Linked DNA regions of Homo sapiens: region 2 is linked to region 1. Evidence: promoter capture Hi-C in human tissues and cell types (Jung and others, 2019). All regions are on one chromosome and are shown on one strand. The core of a region is centred on a gene start or on the middle of the fragment in contact, and the rest is flanking DNA. Distances in the headings are between cores, read along the strand shown. Region 1 holds the start of KRTAP19-6 (keratin associated protein 19-6). Region 2 overlaps LOC105372773 (a long non-coding RNA gene).

Region 1 (6,678 bases), core at 1,815-4,314:
AAAAGGCCAAGAGATTTTTTAAGGTTATATTAGCAAATAACTGAGGCTTTTGACTTATATAGCTTTGCAGTTAATTAAGTGTGTCTAGAGAGAATCTATCAAAAGTGAATTTTTATGAAACAGAAATATAATAGTTAAAATATTTTTGTTTGTAAAAATGGTTTGAAAATCAATTTGTCAGTGTTTTTCCCATTTTCAGCTTGTACTTTAACTTTGTCATTGAAGGTCCCAATCAGTCCTAATCAATAACTTCCTTGAATCCCAATATTCTATTATGTTATTGATGTTTTCTTTTTCTTTTAACAAATATTCATTGAACACCTGCTGTGTGTTTGGCATCATATTAATGCAAGGGATACCTAAAGATCCTGACTGCAAAACCCATACAATCGCATACAAAAACTAATAATCATATTACAATCTATAATCATTAACTAAAATGGGCACTAATAAGTCTGTTTTTTATTTCCCCAGTCTAGAAAATAAAGTTGGGATGACTCGCTGTTGTTCCAAACTAATTTTCTCAATAAGAAATTTCCATGTTATTTCACAATAATTTGACACACTTAACTATTGATTAAAAAAGTACATACATTCTTCAATATCTAAAGGGTTAGAGAATATGCTGTTTATTTTATAATATTTTATTCAAGGTGATTTCTCTACCTTTGTACTTGAAAGAAAATAGGCAGCAGTAGCATAAAGCCTGGTTGATGAATGAGAAATTTACTTGCCAGTTTTATTTTCAATCCTATAAATTAACTTTTTAAGACTACATAATTTGCAATTTTGCTTGCAACTCAATTATTTTAGCAAGCGTGTATATGTTAAATTAAGTATCAGAGAGTATATTTTAAATGTTTTCACCACCCTAAAAAATAACTATGTTAGATAGTAGATTTGTGAGTTAGCTTGGTGTAATCATTCCGCAATGTAAACATATAACAAAATATAACACTGTGCCCTCATAAACATATAAAGCTATTTGTCAATTAAAAATAAAACTTTAAAAATAAGTTTAGAAAGAATAATTAGCATTAGGCAGATGCTTCCAAAATGCTGTCAAATGACCATACCTATAGGCAAAAAAGGCAGTTAAACAACAACAAAAAATAATAACATATAAACAGAACAGTACCATTCCCATCATTATTAATCGCTTATTTGAAATAAACATAACATGAACTCTCTAGAGGAACATGGTACTATTTTAGTTTATTATTTTGTATTTAGATGTTATTTTTACATCAAATCTCCTCCAAATCATCTTCCAGGTTTATAACGTCTTGTGCTAACTCTTACATGACATAGAGTGGAAAGTACCTGAAAGCTACTACAAAAACATTGTTCACTGGCAAGATGGTAGGAGTAGAAATGTATGTCAAGAATTACTGAAATTTAAGAAATTTAAGAGACCTTAAGTACTATCTAGAATAGTTATTTTCAAGGAAATTTTGACGAGTAGTCAGCAGACCAATAGCAAAACTAATGAAAACTAATTATCTAAGTTATCCTCCAGAAAATTAAAAATTAAATTGGTAAAAATGTTGTCATGGGGTTTTTCTTTTCTTTTTTTTTCTTTTCTTTTCTTTTCTTTTTTCTTTTTTTAAACAGAGTTTCATTCTGTCACCCAAGCTGGAGTGTAGTGACATAATCTCGGCCCACTACAACTTCTGCCTCCCAGGTTCAAGCGATTCTCCCACCTCAGCCTCCCAAGTAGCTGGGACCACAGGCACGTGCCACCACACCCAGCCAATTTTTGTTTTTTTAGTAGAGACGGGGTTTCACCATGTTGACCAGGCTGGTCTCGAACTCCTGACCCTGGGTGATCCACCCGCCTCGGCCTCCCAAAGTGCTGGGGTTACAAGCATGAGCCAGCGTGCCCGGCCTCTCTCGGTGTTTTTAATTCAGACATCCCTCAGGTTTACTTTTGAGAAATAATATCTTTTGGGAAGCAAGGCTTGAACTCTACAGGTAGGAACACAGAAAGACAAGTAATTTAACTTGTCAAGGAGGTAGAGTAGATTCTCATATGTTCAATAGTTTAAAATTGATTATACATAAAGGACATTATACATTTGATAAGTCAGTGTTGGGTACATGCGAGCTTTGATAGCATTCTTTAGACCTTACGTATTATTACAAATATTATTTATATTAACTCAATGTTTTATTTAAAATTCGCTTTCATTGATTAACATAGAATTACTGTGCTTTGAGATAAACCTCAGAATACAAACACACTAATTGGAATGAAGATTGCAATAAGTTATTGTTTAAAACTAAGTCATAAAAATAATAGTGTACATAATCATATTCTAAAAACAAAATCACACACAAAACCACTGAAAACAGATAAAAAGTAAAGACAGATGAAAGTACACAGTGATTTTGTCCATCTTATTCTTTTATATCTTCAGGACTTAGAATGGTGCCCAAATTTGGAGACACACAATGAATATATGTTGAATAAAATATATTATTGAGGCAAAACTGTTGAAATAAAAACACCAATTCAGAGGAAAGAAGACAAACAGCTTGATTGAAGTCTCATCAATGCATTTGAAATGTACTAAAATGAATTGATAAAGCCATGTTTGCTATTCAAGTTAAACGTGTTTATTTAAAACTATTTTAAAATACATGTCACAACAGATGTCAGTGACTAAATAATAATAGGTGAAACCCTGATTCAATGTAATGATTCCAGATTCTTCCATAAAAACTGATGGCTAGTTCCTTCTGGAGCATGAAGCCAAAAAATGGTAGGTATTTTCTCTACATTGAGAAAAGTGTTCGCCTTGCTGAAGCATACGGGCAAGATCTTGGAGTTAGAGTATGAGAATCAGCAAGTTTTTTAGTAGAATCCAGAGAATCCATATCCTTCACGGCATGATGGGCGGCAGCAGCCATATCTATAGCCTCCATAGCCAGAGCCATATCTGTAGCCTCCACAGCCACAGCCATAGCCCAGACCACCAAAGCCTCCACAGCCATATCCCAGGCCTCTGTAGTAGCTGCCATAGTATCTCATGGTGTCAGGGACTAGAGATTCAGTTCAATGCTAATGATGAGTTTCCTGAGTGTAGGTGTCTCTAACTTCTCAGAATGATTTTATACTCTAAGTAGTGGGTGTCATGAACAACAATGACAGGTGATCTTATTTCCACATAACAGAATAATTTTAAGTCTAACAATTGTTTATTTTTTTTCTTTTCTTATGTAACAAAGGGTCCAAACTATTATTTAAAGACTTTTAGTCTTTAGTTTGCATTCCTAAGAACAAAATATTTTGAAGATGAAAAATGATTATAGCCACTTCAAAGGCCAGGCTGGTGTTGTAATTAAAATGGTCTAATCGGGTTGATAGCTTCCAGTAACGCTGTAATTACATAACCTCATATTGCTTTTCTTTTTAATTTGCAGTCCATCGTCTTGGTTACTTCATTCCCAGAACCCAAGGACTTCTCTTCATGGTAGTCAGGGCATAGTCACAAAGTCATTAGTGATTTCCAGTAGTCAAATTTAGAGGAAACCTTGGTTTTTGACTCATTTGAACTTTAATTGACCTTTGACATTGCTAACCTTCCATCCATTCATTCTTTTGTAAAGCTTTCTTGCCTTAATTTCTATGAGAAACCTTCAATTAGCTTCCTCTGCCAATTTTTTGTTAGGCTTCTTCCCAATTTTTTATTCATCCATTAACTTCAAAAGTGTACCTTTTCCTCTGCATACACTTTTCCCATGAAGTTCCATTAAATATTATTTTTCTTTTTTCAAATTTTATTTTTAAGAATACATAGTAGAGTATATATATCTATGGGGTATATGAAATACTTTTATACAGACATGACAATGCATACTAATCACTGGTTAATGGAGTAATAATCACTGGTAAATGATAAATAGGGTATCCATCCCCTCAAGCATTTATCCTTTGTGTTAAAGCAATTCAATTACACTCTCTTATTTTAAAATGTTCGATTAAATCAATAATTTAATTTAAATGCAATTTAATTATACATTTTAAAATAACTAAGAGAGTATAACTTAGTATGGCCACACTTTTGTGCTATCAAATACTAGGTCTTATTCATCATTTCTATTCCTTTGTACCCATTAACCACCCCTACTCCTCCATCACTCACATCCCTCCCCACCCCTACCCTGCACCCACCTACTCCCCTTTCCATTCTCTGTTAACCATCCTTCTAGTCTCTATCTCCATGAGTTCAATTGTTTTCAATTTTTAGCTCCCACAAATAAGTGAGAACATACAAAGTTTGTTTTTCTGTGCCTGACTTATTTCACTTAGCATAATGACGACCAGTTCCATCCATTCTGTTGCAAATGACAGGATCTCATTATTTTTTATGGTTGACTAGTACTCCATTGTGTATACATACCACATTTTCTTTATCCATTCATCTGTTGGTGGAAAATTAGGTTGCTTCCAAATCTTTGCTATTATGAACAGTGCTGCAACAAACATGGGAGTGCACATATCTCTTTGATATACTGTTTTCCCTTCCTTTGGATGTATACCAGGCCTCCATAGTAGCTGCTGTAGTAGCTCATGGTGTCAGGGACTAGAGATTAGGTTTGATGCTAAAGATGAGTTTAGCACCAGCAGTGGGATTTCTGTGTCATATGGTAGCTTCATTCTTTGTTTTTTGAGAAACCTCCAAACTGTTCTCCATAGTGGTTGTACTAATTTCCATCCCCACTAATAGCGAATGAGGATTCCAAAACATCTATTTGGTTCTTTTGTCCATTTCTAATCAGATTATTAGATTTTTTTTTTCCGTACAGATTTGTTTGAGCTCCTTATATATTCTGGTTATTAATCCCTTGTCAGATGCATAGTTTACAAATATTTTCTTCCATTCTGTGGGTTGTCTCTTCATTTTGTTGATTGCTTCCTTTGCTGTGCAGAAGCTTTTTAACGTGATGTAATCCTATGTGTCCATTTTTGCTTTGGTGGCCTGTGCTTGTGGAATCTTACTCAAGGAATTTTTGCTGAGACCAATGCCCTAGAGAGTTTCCCCAATGTTTTCTTATAGCAGTTTCATAGTTTACTTTTATTTAAGTCTTTAATTCATTTTGATTTGATTTTTGTATATGGGGAGAGATAGGGGACTAGTTTCATTCTTCTGCACATGAATGTACAGTTTTCCCAGCACTATTTATTGAAGAGACTGTCTTTTCCCATGTGTATGTTTTTGGCACTTTTGTCAAAAATGAGTAGGTGTCTGAACTTGTTTTTGGGTTCTCTCTTCTGTTCCGTTGGTCTATGTGTCTGTTTTTATTACAGTACCGTGCTGTTACTGGTTACTATCGCTCTGTAATATAATTTGAAGGTAATGTGATCCTTCGTTTTGTTCTTTTTCCTCAAGATAACTTTGGTTGTTCTGTGTCTTCTTTGGCTCCTTAAAAATTTTAGAATTTTTTTTTCTATTTCTGTTAAGAGTGTCTTTGGTATTTTAATAAGATTGCATTGAATCTTTAGAGCACTTTGGGTAGTATGAACATTTTAACAATATTGATCCAATCCATGAACATGGAATATTTTTTCCATTTTTTGTGTCCTCTTAATTTTTTCATCAGCATTTTATAGTTTCATTGTAGACGTTTTTTACTTATTTGGTTGCACTAATTTCTAAGTGTTTAAATTTACATGTCACTATTGTAAAAGGGATTACTTTTTAAATTTCTTTTTCACATTGTTCACTGTTGGCATATAGAAATGCTACTGATTTGTGTATGTTGATTTTATATCCTGCAAATTTACTGAATTGTTTATCAGTTCTAATAATTTTGACTGAATCTTTAGGTGTTTTTAAATGTCAAATTACATCATCTGCAAACAATGACATTTGACTTCTTCTTTTCTAATTTGGATGTACTTTATTTCATTCTCTTGTCTCACTGTTCTGTTTAGCACTTCCAGTACTATGAATAAATATGGTCAAAGTGGTCACCCTCCTCATGTTCCAGATATTAGAGAAAAAACTCTCAGTTCCTCCATCCCCCCTTTTTTTGTTTGAGATGGAGTTTGGCTCTTGTTGCCCAGGATGGAGTGCAATGGCGCGATCTCGGCTCACTGCAACCTCCACCCCCCGGGTTCAAGCGATTCTCCTGCCTCAGCCTCCCAAGTAGCTGGGATTACAGGCCTGCGCCATCACACCTGGCTAATTTTGGATTTTTAGTAGAGACAGGGTTTCTCCATGTTGGTCAGGCTGGTCTCCAACTCCCGACCTCAAGTGATCCATTCGCCTTGGCCTCTGAAAGTGCTAGGATTACAGGCATGAGCCACTGTGCCCGGCCCTCCATTTTTGTAATAAAGGAATGTTGTTATATCAAATGCTTTTTTTAGCATCAATTGAAATGATCATATGGTTTTTGTCCTTCATGCTGTTGATACAACACATCACACTGATTGATTTGTGTATACTGAACTGTCCTTGCATCCCTGGAATATATCCCACTTCGTCATGATGAATGATCTTTTTAATGTGTTCTTTGATATCATTTGTTAGTATTTTGTTGGGGATTTTTTCACCTATATTCATCAGAGACACTGGCCTGTACTTTTCTTTCTTCGATGTGTCTTTGTCTGGTGTTGATAACAGGGTAGTACTATCCCTGTAGAATGAATTTGGAAGTACTTCCTACTTC
Region 2 (6,678 bases), core at 1,834-4,333, 180 kb after region 1:
TTGTACACTCTGTATACATGTTCTCAGTGAGCCCCAAATGTACACTCCACAAATATCATGATGCTAAATCTTGCAGGGAAGTACTTCCCTCAGCTCTAACCCAAAACATTGAGAATCCCCATCCCCAGCCTCCTAGAGAAAGGAAGGGGCTTAGTGATTCCTACCTTTTCAGGTGCCACCAGTATTACCATCCAATCCACAACTGTACTACTCAGGAGAGGATAGGCATAGGAAGGCTAAATTGAGAAACATGCGTTCAATTCTATAATATTAGAATTTATTGAGAACTTTCCTAAAAAACAGAACATGACAGTAGGCACTGCTGAAAATAACATAAAAATAAAAATGAAAAACATAAATAAGACCAAGAACAGACCTTCAATGAACTCCCAGCTTAGTAAGGAAGAGAAACATTTACACAAAAAAAGTCTCAGATTGATGCGGTTAGAGAAAAAGGAAAGAGAAATCCTATGAAATAGACCTCAAAACAATCCAGACCAGGTCCACTTAGGGCCTTCATCCATGCTGGGCTTTCACCTGCAGTTTTTACAATTTAACACCCATATCTATGACTCATTCCCTCATTGCCATCAGAGTGTGTTCAAATGTCACTCAAGGAGGCCCTCCCTGAACAGTATTATTTATAGCTAGCACCCTCCCACAGATATATCTTTATTCTCTACTTAGCATTTATCAAGCCATTTATCACCATATGATAGACTTGCATTTTACTAATTTTGTTGACTGTTTTTCTCACTGGAATATAGGATATCTGTGAAGGCAGGAATTTCTTTTTTTCTTTAGGGAATAAAATAGATTTTAAAAAAGTATAATAAACTGGGGCCAAATAATAAAGAGCTTTGAATATTAAGGTAAAAAGTGTGGAATTCATTCTAAAGGTAATGGAGAACCAGAGAAGATTTTGAGCAAATTAATGGCATAATCAGCTCAATATTTTGAGATACAGAAATCACAACCATTTATCCAGTGTACTTAGTAATGTCCTATTTCTTCGAAACCATTATTTGCTAAATTATTCTCTTGAGCAAAGATCTTTCCTTGAGCACTAGCCATGGTTGCATTGAATTTGTGGCATTTTATTTTCCAATTATGTTTCCAGGAACACTAGGACTGGGAGGTATTAAAATGTATTCCAAGAAATAGAGTTTCCAAGATTTTAAAATGTGCTATCAAACACTATAAAATAAAAACACCTTCAGAGTATTCACAATTTACATATGCGCTGTAAGTTTTACTTGCACCTAAATGCCAGGTATTGTAGTAGGAGTACAAACTGGAACGCCATGATAGCATTTTAATTATCCTTAGGAGGACAACTGTGTAAAGAAAACCAGCTTGACATTCTTCAATAAACTAACATATTTGTGTAACAAAATAACTTTTTAAGTTGAGAAATAACTTTTAAGTTCTTTTGAAAGTTATCGTCTTAGAGTATATGTTCAAATATGAAAATCTTATGAGTGTTCAAGTTTCCAAATCACTAAAGAGACTGTTGGCGTTTTTATACAGCACAAGCAAATAGGCCACATTAAGTCAAACAGGTCATCTTTTTTTTTTTTTTTTTTTTTTTTTTGAGACGGAGTCTCGCTCTGTCGCCCAGGCCGGACTGCGGACTGCAGTGGCGCAATCTCGGCTCACTGCAAGCTCCGCTTCCCGGGTTCACGCCATTCTCCTGCCTCAGCCTCCCCAGTAGCTGGGACTACAGGCGCCTGCCACCGCGCCCGGCTAATTTTTTGTATTTTTAGTAGAGACGGGGTTTCACCTTGTTAGCCAGGATGGTCTCGAAGGTCATCTTTTAAAATAACCATTGGGTAAGCAGTTTTGCCTAGATTAAACTGAATATTTTGAAAATAAACCTTTGATGGGACTCAATTACAAAATTAGTCTCAACTCAACCTAAATATGGTATTTTCTTGCCCATGAGAGTTGAAAATCTATATTTAAGATGCTCAGTGAGGATTGAATCTTAGACAATCTGAAAAAAGCTTCTAAAATTTGGTACCTGAGCACAGTGGCTCACACCTGTAACTTCACCACTTTGGGAGGCTAAGGCAGGAGGATTACTTAAGGGCATGAGTTCCAGACTAGCCTGGGCAACATAATGAGACCCTGTCTCTACAAAATAAAATAAAATAAATTAGCAGAATGTGGTGGCACATGCCTATAGTCCCAGCTACTCAGGAGGCTGAGGTGGGAGGATCCCTTAAGCCCAGGAATTTGAGGCTGCAGTGACCTATGATCAGACCACTGCACTCTAGCCTGGGTGACAGAGTGAGATCATCTTTCTAAAAAAAATGTTTTTAATTGATACTTTATTTGAACCATCTTTTGCTGCAAATTATCCGTATTATGATGTATCATGTGTTTCTTTGCATATATGTCTCATGTTACCTATTTTAATATATGCAGTCTCTTTAAAAGTGAGAACCTTGTTATTATTTTTATTTTTTGTTTTATATTTTGCTCTGTACATTCTATACCCCTGCAAGCATCTTACTTTGTACAGGGAAATTAGAACTGCAATATGTATTTTATTGTGGATTTTTTTTTCTATCATTTCATACACTTAAGTATCTGTTCCTTTTCAGACTTTTGACTTTCATGTGACTGTAAGGAATTGTGGTTGCTATTTTTCTCTTGACCCAAAAATGCTGAGTTGCTCTGAAAAGTATTTCCTAACCATATAAGAATTCATTCGTATTCTGAAAATTTGTTTCTGCTTAATTTCCCGATTATTGATGACATATTATGTAATTATTTTCAGCTTTTCATTAGTAAAAATTCACCACATTAAGTCAAATGCAAAATTTATTGCAAATTTATTCATCTTTCCCATATTTTCCCTTTCATTTTCTCAGCTAAGGTCTCATGTTAATAGCAGTGATGACCCTGTGCCACTTTAAGTAAAATTCGGAATTTGTATACCCCTAGCCTTCATTTGTAAAGTATACAACTATGTCTTTGACCATAATAGCCCTCTCTGTAAAATCACCAATAAATTTCCAAAATATGTGATGGTAAAATTAAGTTTCATATTCTTCCCCCAGCTATTTTCTACTTCTTACCAAATATACTACTGACCTTTTAGGCCCATTTTTCTTTCTTGAATCAATGGTGTTATTTCTCTACCTGGAACATCATCAAATCTGAAAATTTCCATTCCCACCTCTGAAAGTGGCTTAACTCCTATGTTCTCCATCCTCATGAAGATTTCTCTACGTCAGGGGAAAGAAAATGTGAATGTTCACATTCATTTGCCTGCAAATTTTTTTAAATAGAAAGAAGAAAATAAGCAATTTATTATTCTACTAGATATTTTATAATTCACTTTGTTAGATTTAATTTATCTCATTCTCCAAAATATTCATGTAAAAATTAAATACGGTGATAATATTAATAGAAATACCTTTAGTTCAAAGTCAGCATCCATTTAATGTTCACATTTAAATGCATATATAATTTATAAGAGTAGATTATATGCAAAAAATATTTAATCATTATAGATTTATGTAAAAATATATGTTTAATTTTGAAAAAAAGATTGTATTGAAAATAAGTCATATTTCTGTTGTGTTTTCCCTTCAGTCTCAGAAGATGAGGTATTTTTTTCTTCCTTCAAATTATTAGCTCTCCACCAACGTGGTATCCTAACTTGTTTCTACTTTTATTGCTCTATGGCTCTATCTTCATCAGTCTCTTCAAATCTACTCCCTTCTTCTGCCTACTCTTCCCTAAGAGATTTTTAATGTTTTCTTTTGCCAATGCCAGTCACATTTCTTCTCCATGGTTATCGTTGACCTCTGCTGCCACAAGGTATCATTTCCTCTACTTCCAACCCTTTTCAACACCATCCTCATTCTCTTTTTACAACTGTACCTTTCATGTGTTTTCTTCATTTATTCCTCTGACTCTACCCAAACTCTAACTAAGGAGCCCTTCCTAGATTCAATTCCTTGACTTTCTCTCTCTAAATTCTCTTATTAATTTCCCATTTGTACTCCCACTACAATGTCTGACTTACAGAAAGTGATCCATTAAAACTTAAGGAATAAATGTGTGTGAGTAAATATTTTCTCTCACATTTACAGCTTTAAATAAAAAATTAATATCAGTTACTTTCAAATTGATATGTCGTGTACTCTCCTTAAATATACAAATCTTAGCTAGATAATTTTTTTGAATGTATTATTACCTCAAATCAACATATCCAAAACCAGATACATCTCTCTGGCAAAACTAAATTTTAAAAATATTTCTCCCTGTTAATAACATTTCCTTTCTTGATGAATACCCACATTCAAAAGTACCACATTTATGCATTTGTTTATGTCACTGAAACAAATCATTTTCCATACAAAATTTTGGTATCTATTTTCTTACTCTTACTGCAACAGGCTTAATTCTGGTCCTAATCTTCTCACTCTTGGACCCCCCCACCCCAATAAGTCCTTAGCTCCAGGAACTCAATGCATCTTTCGTTTCCACACTGTCCAACCTATTCTGCACATTGTTTCTAAATTTATATTTCCTACATATTACTTTTATCATGCATTTCTTCTGCTTAATATTCTGAATCTCCTACTGTGCTAATTCTATATCCTCTGCCTGGGCTCACAGATCTCTCATAATATACCTCTTCCCCTAACCATTCCAAATCTGTTTACCACTCTAAGTCATGGTAATCATCACATTATTTGTTAAATACATTCATGTGCAAGACACCAACCATTTCCCCTAAACAGCCGATTTAATGCCCATTCTGCCTCTGTCCCCAGTGACTCTCCCACCTTGAATTTCTGATTTTCTAATCTATTAATGCAGTTCTTCCAAGCCCAGTTCATTTCCCCTTCGACAGAAGCTTTCTGCAGTTCCCGGAGTCCTCATTATCTTCCTTTCCTATGAACTCCTGCCAGTCTTTTCATCTGTGACACATAAGCTGTTATATCTCAAGTTTTGTTCTTTTCTACAAATAGGTATGTTAGTCTTGATCTTCCAAATGGATGGTTAGTTCTTTGATCTCAGCAACTATTCTCATCTACACAACACTATCATGGTGCTGACCAAACACATATTAAGTGCTCGATAAATCCCTGTTGATCACCTACTGAACCCAGGTGAAAAAATATATTTTCCATTAATTCATTTGCTCCACTGCAATTTTTAAGAGTTAGAGTTTCTAAAAGTGGAGTGTATGGATCAGCAGTTATCAGCATCACTTGGGAATTTGTTAAAATTGCAGATTTTGAGGTTCTACCCAAAACCTACTAAATCAGAAGGTCTAGGAGTAGGACCCAAAAACTCTATGTTTTTCAAGCACTCTGGTTAATTTAATACACACTATCATTTCAGAACCACTGCCATAGATCAATCGTCTTGTCCTCATAACAAGGTCTCTAGATAAAATAGCAGTGGCCAACACAAAAGGTTAATGGCTTACTGAGCTTTTATTTTTGAGGACATTCTGACCTGTTTAAAACCAGACAAGTGGTGATTAGCAGTGTACTTTCTGTGATTCACAAAGCTTAGACAATAATGGAAACAGGCTATTTGAGCAATCAGTTATCTAAATGAATCTAAAAGGTTTTGCTGTGAAGGTTAATATTCCATGTTTTATCTAACATTTGCCTTGTACCCTCCGCCAAAATTGGTTTAATGTGCAGTTCTGAAACTGGAATCTAAAGTGCAGAGGTTATTGTGGAAAGCTCAATCATCTAGCTGCTACATAAGTCTGAATATTTGTAAAGGTTTTAGAACCCAAATGTTAGATTTTAAGTTTATCATCCACCATCTTTTATGCATATCTTACCAGCTCTGAATAGGGGTGAGATAAGGAACAGAGATCACAGACTCGAGCTGAGGACCCTAGAGAGACTATCTCATGCTCAGGTTTAAGAGAAATTCAGGGGACTCAATGTTGATCTGTATTCTGTTCAGGGGACAAAGTTACCCAAAGGGAAGCCATAAACCCCAGGGCCTTAGCAGTTAATCTCACTTCCACCTAGTTCAATGGTGTGTTACGGTCCTCCCAAGAAAAAATAACAGTAGGATGTGTGTGTCTACATGTAAGTATGTGTATACACATACCTACAGGATGCATGAAGGAAATACATACATACACACACACACACACACACACACAGAGAGAGAGAGAGAAGGAAGAGGTGGAAGAGTGAGGGAGAGAGAGGCAAAGAGGAATGAGAGAGAGAGGAGAGAAAGGGAAAGAGAGGGAGGAGAGAGAAAAAAGAGGGAGAGTGAGGGGGAGAGAGAAAGAGGAGAGTAGAGAGGGAGAGAAAAGAGAGAGAAAAGTGGGGAGGGAGAAAAGGAGGAGGAGTAGAGAGGAGAGAGGCCAGAAGGGAGATAAGCGGGGAGAGAGAGAAGAGAGAGAAGCAAGGAGAGGGAGAGAAATTGGGGGACAATAAAGAGAGAGAGAGAGAAAGGGAGGGAGGGATACAGAGAGACAGAGCGAGAGAAGAGGCAGATTTTAAAGCATTGGCTCACATGATTGTAGGGGCTAGCAAAATCAAAATCTGCTGAGCAGGCTGGAGACCCAGGGAAGAGCTGATCTTGCAACTTGAATGTGAACTCAGGTTGAAGGCAGATTTCCCTCTTCCTCTGGTAGACATCACCCTTTTCTCTTAAGGCCCTCAACTGCCTGGA

Evidence for each region. Contacts are between HindIII fragments. The study calls those that stand out against the background at their distance.
Region 2: a fragment that was not itself captured here is called in contact with the fragment with the promoter of KRTAP19-6 in region 1 in 1 of the 25 tissues and cell types used here (hippocampus).

Annotation. Positions count from the first base shown.
Region 1 is chr21:30,538,800-30,545,477 of GRCh38, forward strand. It overlaps KRTAP19-6 (keratin associated protein 19-6), which reads right to left and starts at 3,065. Exons shown (of 1, transcript NM_181612.3): 1 at 2,736-3,065. The coding sequence starts at 3,034. The coding sequence ends at 2,858. The HindIII fragment of the contact is 7,735 bases long and covers 1-4,275 here.
Region 2 is chr21:30,718,998-30,725,675 of GRCh38, forward strand. It overlaps LOC105372773 (a long non-coding RNA gene), which reads right to left. Exons shown (of 3, transcript XR_937655.3): 1 at 6,520-6,678; 2 at 3,103-3,279. Among named protein-coding and RNA genes, the nearest start is that of KRTAP21-3, 3.6 kb to the left of the region's middle. The HindIII fragment of the contact is 4,254 bases long and covers 957-5,210 here.